Linked DNA regions of Homo sapiens: region 2 is linked to region 1. Evidence: promoter capture Hi-C in 16 types of primary human blood cells and fetal thymus (Javierre and others, 2016). All regions are on one chromosome and are shown on one strand. Each heading gives the region's core, a stretch centred on a gene start or on the middle of the fragment in contact. The rest is flanking DNA. Distances are from core to core; before and after follow the strand shown. Region 1 holds the start of DHX36 (DEAH-box helicase 36). Region 2 has its middle 300 kb from the start of GPR149.

Region 1 (3,908 bases), core at 449-2,948:
TTCTTTCCACATGTAATGCCCTGTCATCCCATTTTGCCTCCCCTACATCACATTAACTAGTTTCCCTGTATCCACTCTTGTCTCCGCTATTTATTTCCAATTGAAGCAGTCAAAATAACCACTGCTCTGCATAAACATATCACTGTTCTTTAAGTGGCACATAAGTTTTCCATAATCAGACCCCTATCTACCTCTTTGGCCTTCCCCATCAGGCTTTAAGATTCAGGGTAGTTGTTTTAAGTTCTCCGATGTCTCACATCATTATCTGTCTTTACACATTGTTCCTTTCACCTGCCATACTTTTCTTCTGCCCATTAGTCTGGCAAAAGTCTACTTATCTCAAAAGTTGTTGCATAACTCACCTAACTCCAAAATTAAATTCTTTTGCTGTAGTATCTCTTGGCTCTTAGGGAGGAAATACTTTTTGTCTACTTTCTTAGATTCAGTGTTTGCAGGCCCCAGACTTAAAGTGACAAAACAGATTAGCAAAAGAAAAGACAGACTTAACCACATACATAATAGAGTTCACAGAAAAAGGTGATTCAGGGAGGTAGAGTTCTGACTTATCTACCATCTTATAAAGGGAAGGAAAGGGGAAAACAGCACGTATGGAAAAAACAAATGACTTTTAGTAAAAATAAATGACACCTTAAAACAGATGCCAGATATGATAGCTTTGTGACAATGTCTATTCAAGTGTGTTGCCAGCTTCTAACCTCCAGTGATAAGAGTCAGTCTTCCTGGGTTTCCCTCCCAGGGAGGAGCTTGATTTGAATTCCTCCGTGTGGTTCTGCATTTAGACAGGTAGATTTCAGAAACTCAAATGTCTTTGCTCAAAATAATTTTTAGGCCACAATGGTGTATTGTAGACCCCTTCCTGGCATACAGCATTTCCCTTTCTTAATTCACTGCACAAAGATAGCCTTTGTCTTTCCCTTAAGACTGTAGGCAAATAAAAGCTCATGCCATACTTGCTTTGTTCAGTGAGTATTCCCAGCACCTTTACATCAGTTAACTGTAACATGAGCTGGATATCTCCTGGTGTACATCCAAGCCTGTGTGGCCCAATTACTTGATTATTCAAGAACAGCTTGTACAAAACACTCAGTGTGCTGGTTAATAAACAGTATGTGGCTTCATATGAACACATGAATCTTCAAAGTAGTTTATTTACATTGCCTAAGAGCTCTGCACCGAATTTGGGTAGACACGCTCATCTTAACACTATTGGATAAACGTACTAAATAGTGACAACACTTTCAAGGAGGTAAGGGGATTTTAAATTACATATTTGAATAGTTGTCAGGCTGTTTTCAAGACTAGAAGAACTCATTTTTTAGAGACTTTTCTTTAGAAGACGGCGAATTGATCCAAGGGTTCTTTTGTTTCAATCAACGTTTACTACCCTAGGACCTAAGTGCAAAAAAACTGCGGATTTACCAGGAATAAGAAAGTAAAAACCAAAAGCTATTGGCTCACTTGCTGGGCCTAGGGAAAGAAAATCTACGAGCCTTTGGCTGGCTGTTGCTCCAGAGGTACAAAGATAAACAACTCGGGGGCTCAGACAGAACCTGATCCCTGCCACCCTCCAGACCACCGGGGTCGTCCTCCCGTGACGTCACCAGAAACCACTGCTTGTGACGCTAAATGGCCCGCCCTCTTGTGCGGTGCTACGGAAGCAAAACGGAAGTGGGCGCACAGTGGCTTCCGGGCCCGGACGCCATTTCCAGCGGTTGCTGGTTCTGACGGGTTGTAGTCTGCCAGGACAATGAGTTATGACTACCATCAGAACTGGGGCCGTGATGGGGGTCCCCGCAGCTCCGGTGGGGGCTATGGAGGGGGGCCAGCAGGGGGTCATGGAGGTAACCGAGGCTCCGGAGGAGGCGGCGGCGGCGGAGGGGGTGGTCGAGGCGGCAGGGGCCGGCATCCCGGGCACCTGAAAGGCCGCGAAATCGGCATGTGGTACGCGAAAAAACAGGGGCAGAAGAACAAGGAAGCGGAGAGGCAAGAGGTAATCTCGGATTCAGTAGTGGAGAGGATGAGGCAGCACAGGTTTTCTTCTCTCTCCCGCTGCCCCCTTTTTCTTGGTTTTGTTTCTTAAGTGATGCACGTGTTTTGTGAAATGTAAATGAGGCGCAAATATATTATGCTGGCGCTCCCCGTAGCGGGTGTACTGCGTAACATTAGCCATGCTCATCTGACCAAAAACAGGCAGGATTTATGCAGGCTGAATATATACTTTGCTTAAAGGACTTGAGAACTGTGACAAAGCAAATGTTAAGTTCACGTTCCAACCGAAATTAACTTTATTAGGAGTGTCGTTGTCGTATCTCTGGCCGTCCTTTCCCTTAGAATAATAATTGTCACTTTAAGGTCTTTGCCTGGTGAAGAAGCACATAGCGACCTTTCTACATTTGAGATAGGTTTGCGCGGAACAAAAGCAGGCAGACACTGTTTTGGATGTGGATCATTCAGAAAAATAGTCCAGCTTTTATTATTAGTGTTAAAATTATCTGCAAACCTAGGTTTTTGTTTTTTATGTTGGGGTGGAGAAATTTCTATTGATGAGCAGATTCTCTTTGAAAAGGAAAATGAAAGGAATCTCCAGAGATGATTTGGCTTACTCTCCTCTCTTCAGGTGATTGTCAGGTTGATTTGTGTCTTAAAGATCTGTAGTAAGGGAAACAAAGTTCTCCGAGTGACTAGTAAATAAAATTCTAATAAAAAATAATTTTTATCATTAAGCAGGAACTTTCTTAGTATAGGCCTTTGGTGACTTTTTAAAAGCACCTTATAAAATGTATTATAGAGTGTAATTAGATCATCATTTAGGCAACTTTTTTTTTTTTTAAGACAGGGTCTCACTCTGTCGCCCAGGCTGGAGTGCAGTGGCACGATCTTAGCTCACTGCAACCTCCGCCTCCCAAGTTCAAGCGATTCTCCTGCTTCAGCCTCCCGAGTAGCTGGGATTACAGGCGTCCGCCACCACCTCCGGCTAATTTTTGTATTTTTAGTAGAGACGGGGTTTCACCATGTTGGCCAGGTTGGTCTCGAACTCCTGACCTCAGGTGATCCACCCAACTCGGCCTCCCAAAGTGCTGGGATTACAGGCGTGAGCCACCACGCCAGGCCTAGACTACTATTTTTAAACCGTTCCATTTCTTTTTATTTCTTTTAACCATGTCATGTTCATTCAGGTGTTTTGGGGGCCTTATCCATTTATCTTCATAATTTAAACTTTTCTTTAAAAAACAAATCCATTTCTTTTACAGCCCCAAATTAACTTTTTCGTTGGGCATACTGGCTTGAAAATCAGGATACGGACGTCTAAGTAACTTTACAACTTTTATTTATTAAGGCTCTGTTTGAAACAAGGTTTTATGCATATTGCTCCAGGGACTTGAAGAAATGTGGTATTCAAAGAGCTTACAGTCTAGCTGAGAAAATAATACCTAAACAGATGAAAAGTTAAATAAGTCAGGAAAAAATGTTCATTATTGTTTCCACATGAAGGGTATAGCCAGTTGTGCAGTGGATGTTATGAATGGAACTTTTCATTTCTACTTGCGTTCCCATCCTCCTTTTAGTGGTGACACGACCATTTATTCACTTGGCAAGGCCAAATGAGATTTATCTTTGCTTCTTCCCCTTCATTTCAGCAAATCTCTGCCTTGTTAATATATCCCAATCTAACCACTTACCTCCAGAATAGTTACCATAGATCAAGCCACTGTTTGTTTTCTGTTCTTGCCTTCTAACTAGTCATCTAGCTTCCATTCTTGCTCTGCATTGTCTGTGCTTTACAGAGCCGCCTATGGTGATCTTTTAAAAGGAAAAATTAGATCATTTTATTACCTAATTCACAACTTCAGATTGGAAGTCATGTCACTTCTGTCTCAGTCTGATAT
Region 2 (3,908 bases), core at 689-3,188, 410 kb before region 1:
TACACAATTAATTTTTGTTAATTACAGTCACCCCATAGTGCTATTCAATGCTAGAACTTATTCTTCCTATCTAGGTGTACTTTTGTAAAGCCATATTTTTTCCAATTTTTATTTCAGATTCGGAGGGTACATGTGCAGGTTTGTTAGCTGGGTAACTGTGTGATGCTGAGTTTTGGGGTACAAATGATCCTGTGACCCAATAATGAGTTTTTCAACCCTATCCCCATTCCTCCTTCCCTTTTCTAGTAGTTCCTGCTTCTATTGTTCTCTTTATGTCCATGAGTACCCAATATTAGGCTCCATTTATAGGTGAGAACATGTAGTATGTGGTTTTCTGTTTCTGTGTTAATTCACTTAGGATAATGGCCTTCAGCTCTTTCCATGTTGCTTCAAAGGACATGATTTCATTCTTTTTTATGGCTGTGTAGTATTCCATGGTGTATGTATACCACTCTTTCTTTATCCAACCCACCATTGATGCACCTAGGTTGATTCCATGTCCTTGTTATTGTGAATAATGCTGTGATGAACATGTGAGTGTATGTGTTTCTTTGTTAGAACAATTTGTTTTCTTTTGGATATACATCCAGTAATAGGGTTACTGGGTCAAATGGTAGTTATCTTTTTAAGTTCTTTGAGAAATCTCCAAGCTGCTTTCCACAGTAGCAGAGTCACCCCCCACCCTTTTTTTTTTTTTTGCTATATAAAATCTGAGTAAGATAACAGACTATTGGAAGTGTGGAAGAAATTGGGCCCATTTTCAGCTCACTGAGTATTTACAGAATGCCTGAGAATATTGCTTTTTTAAATCTAAGGCTGCAAATTTCAGCACTCTAGGACTTTGGCAGAATAATGAATCATCATTTTCTGTATCTTGCTTTTGTTGCTATTTGAAAATAGACCAGCCACGTTATAGTAAATATCTTAAATGTACATGTGCAATTCAATAACAACTTTACTATGACACATACTCATATTCTTTACTATGACACATACTCATATTCATTGAAGATATTTTGATTAAAAGTCTTAGAAGGAATTTGTTCATTCATCGCGGTATTTCCCTATAGAGTTATTGGTTTAATGACCAACAGTGCAGTAATTATCATTCCAGTGTCAATGAAAGGAAAATATTTTGCTTTCAACTAGAAAGCATTTTATAACTCAGTCAGATGTGGGTGTATATACCTATGCAAGCATGAGTAAAGAGGAGAGAGACAGATTATAAAGAATTTTAGATTGCTTTGCCAAATTAATGTCATTAAGCTTACTTATGAGACGAAGGCATAGAGTGCCTGGAGGTGTTATGCTCAGCTGGTCACAGGAGAGTGCTAGAGTACCATTAAATTTCCTGCTCTAAAATAACTGAAAGAAATCATGTGCCAGAGAATGACTTAATGCACTTGGGTGAGCTTTGCCTTGCAGGGTTGATGGAAAGAAATAATAACACATGCTGGTAGAAATTATAGTAGAATGCCAAATCTACCTCATAACATCTCCAGATGTTAAGAACAGAATGATAAAGTGTGACAGAATTATCTTGTGCTACAATTATTTTAATCTTTGCAGTGCTATTATAAAAGATTTCAATTTTGTCAAATTACCCTCTGCATTTTAAAATTCTTTTTCAGCTAGCTCTTAACAGTTTTACTAAATTGTCCTACATTCTTTGCAGGCAGCATCCTCTTGAGCCAGTGGGAATGCAATATGTGGGTCTGGGCTGCATTTAATGACCTTGTTCTCCTTGGCATAAAAGCAAAATAACAGAGGTGTGACTCTGAGTCCTTGGTAACAGAAATACTTTGCAGTCATATGTTTCTTTCATAGAATTTTAATATCGTTATGCATCACAATTCTTTTTTATGGCTTAGAAAGATGAACAATATGTGATTCTTGTTTTCTGGACAAAAACACTAAATCACCTCAGAATCCAAAAGAATTCATGTCAGCAACTGCAAGAACTGCAAGCACATTTTCAGACCTCTAGATTCTGCTAGCGAAAATAATGCTGCTTCATCCAATTTAATCATCAGTTTTATAAGGATCATTGTCTGAGAATAAATTCACACTTAAGAGTGCTGAGTAACATAATCAGGCATGATAATCCACTAAGCATGGGGGACCCTTGGAAAAATATTGCAATTATATAGGGCTCTTATGGGAGTTTTGAGATATTAAGAAAAGCTATCAACGAATTCCCCAAAGAAATGCAAATAAATACAGCATTTTAAACACAATTTCAGGGGGGTCAGTTACAGGCCCAACAGCAAGATCTTCAATAAGGGTCATTACTATCCCTTATGACACTTGGGTTGGGGATGGTCTTGTGCAGTTTGTACTGAGTTCTGGGATCAGAGCTATGGCTTCCTTTCTCCAGTGCCCATAGCAGGTTATTTCAACATAATATCACACTTATTCGGCTTTATTGATTTGAGGATAAAGAAATATTAAACATTCTCCAGTATTTCAGAGAATCAAACGTAAGAGCAACTAAATTTGTGACCACGCCCATTCAAAAAGACTGACAGTAAATTTAGTGACAAACTAAAAACCATATGTAGTGAATTTGCTTTTCCAATCATCTATATTGTAATCTATAGGAAAAGCTTAAGATAATATTATAAATACCACACTGTCTTTAATATTTGAGGAGCAGTACTCCTCAAAGACCTAACACCTAAAAACATTTTTAACAATATGGAAGAATTATTTATTGAACTATCAATTTTTATGCCCCAAGCATAATTGAGATCACTGGAACACGAGCCATGGAAAGAAAATGCAGGCTGATACAGAAGTTATCTTGGTGATAAAACCAGTGGCGAGCATATCAATGCCCAATGGGGCCTTCTTAACGTTTTGGCCCTTCATGAGAATCCAGAGACTACAGAACTCCAAATTGAACTTTACACCAACTCAGGGAGACAGGGGCTCGTAATTAGATTTGTAGACTTTAAAATATCTTTTAAATTTTTGACTTGCACACCCAAAGTTCTGATGAGGCAGGTTTAACTTTTCTTTCCTTTGAAGAAAAATTATTTAAATTATATTATTTTCTTTTAAAAATCTTATTTAAAAAAAATTTGGATTCAGCCAGTATATGTGCATGGTTGTTATATGGGTATATTGCTTGATGCTGAGGTTTGGGATACAGGTGATTCTATTACCCGGGTGGTGAGCATAGTACTCAATGGTAGTTTTTTAGCCAACACCCCCCTCCCCCTTCCTTTCTCACTTCTCTGTTTATCTCTGTAGTTGACTAAACTTGGCAATCTGTACCATCATCCACAAAAGGTATAAGCAGCTTGTAGGGCTCTGGAAGAGGAACAATCCTATATTCACTATTTCAGCACCCAGAAGTCATTTCCTGCTAAATACTCCCCTATTCTGTTCCTTCATGAGAAAGTAATGTCAGAGTCACAGGGGAGTCTAGTAAAAGATACTGGAAATCAAGAAATAGATCTGGAAGGTATGGGCATGAGAATGGCTCTTCTAGTCCTGCTGTGAAGGAAAGTGCAGGAAACTCCCTTTCTCAGACTAGACACACCTTCATCTGCTTCTTCTCAAAGGGCAATTGCACTGAATTCTCACTTGAGAAGGTGCAGACCAGATAGAACAGCAAGATGCTTAAACTGGGTTTCGCTCCCTCTCTTGGACCCACTACCTCATGTGGCCCACTGGGATGCCTTCAGCTTTTGCTACTGAGGATCCCAGCCTATTCTGACTGCTTCTAAAATGGTCGATATTCTAAAACTATTTTTTACTCATCCTTAATCATTTCCCGACTTGGCACCCCACCTATCACCAAAATTCCAGAGCATTGTATCTAACTCAAGAAACAAAGATAAGTAAATTAATATATACTATGAGAATGATTCCTGAAGGTATTGGTAAACAAAAGGAATCGA

What was found. The method cuts DNA at HindIII sites, captures the fragments that hold promoters and counts their contacts. A CHiCAGO score of 5 or more calls a contact.
Region 2: a fragment that was not itself captured here is called in contact with the fragment with the promoter of DHX36 in region 1 in 2 of 17 cell types (M1 macrophages and M0 macrophages); the score reaches 6.6 in M1 macrophages.

Annotation. Positions count from the first base shown.
Region 1 is chr3:154,322,277-154,326,184 of GRCh38, reverse strand. It overlaps DHX36 (DEAH-box helicase 36), which reads left to right and starts at 1,698. Exons shown (of 25, transcript NM_020865.3): 1 at 1,698-2,011. The coding sequence starts at 1,769. RefSeq lists an enhancer at 1,511-1,805. The HindIII fragment of the contact is 15,842 bases long and covers 1-3,908 here.
Region 2 is chr3:154,727,851-154,731,758 of GRCh38, reverse strand. No RefSeq gene overlaps it. Among named protein-coding and RNA genes, the nearest start is that of GPR149, 300 kb to the right of the region's middle. The HindIII fragment of the contact is 1,340 bases long and covers 1,269-2,608 here.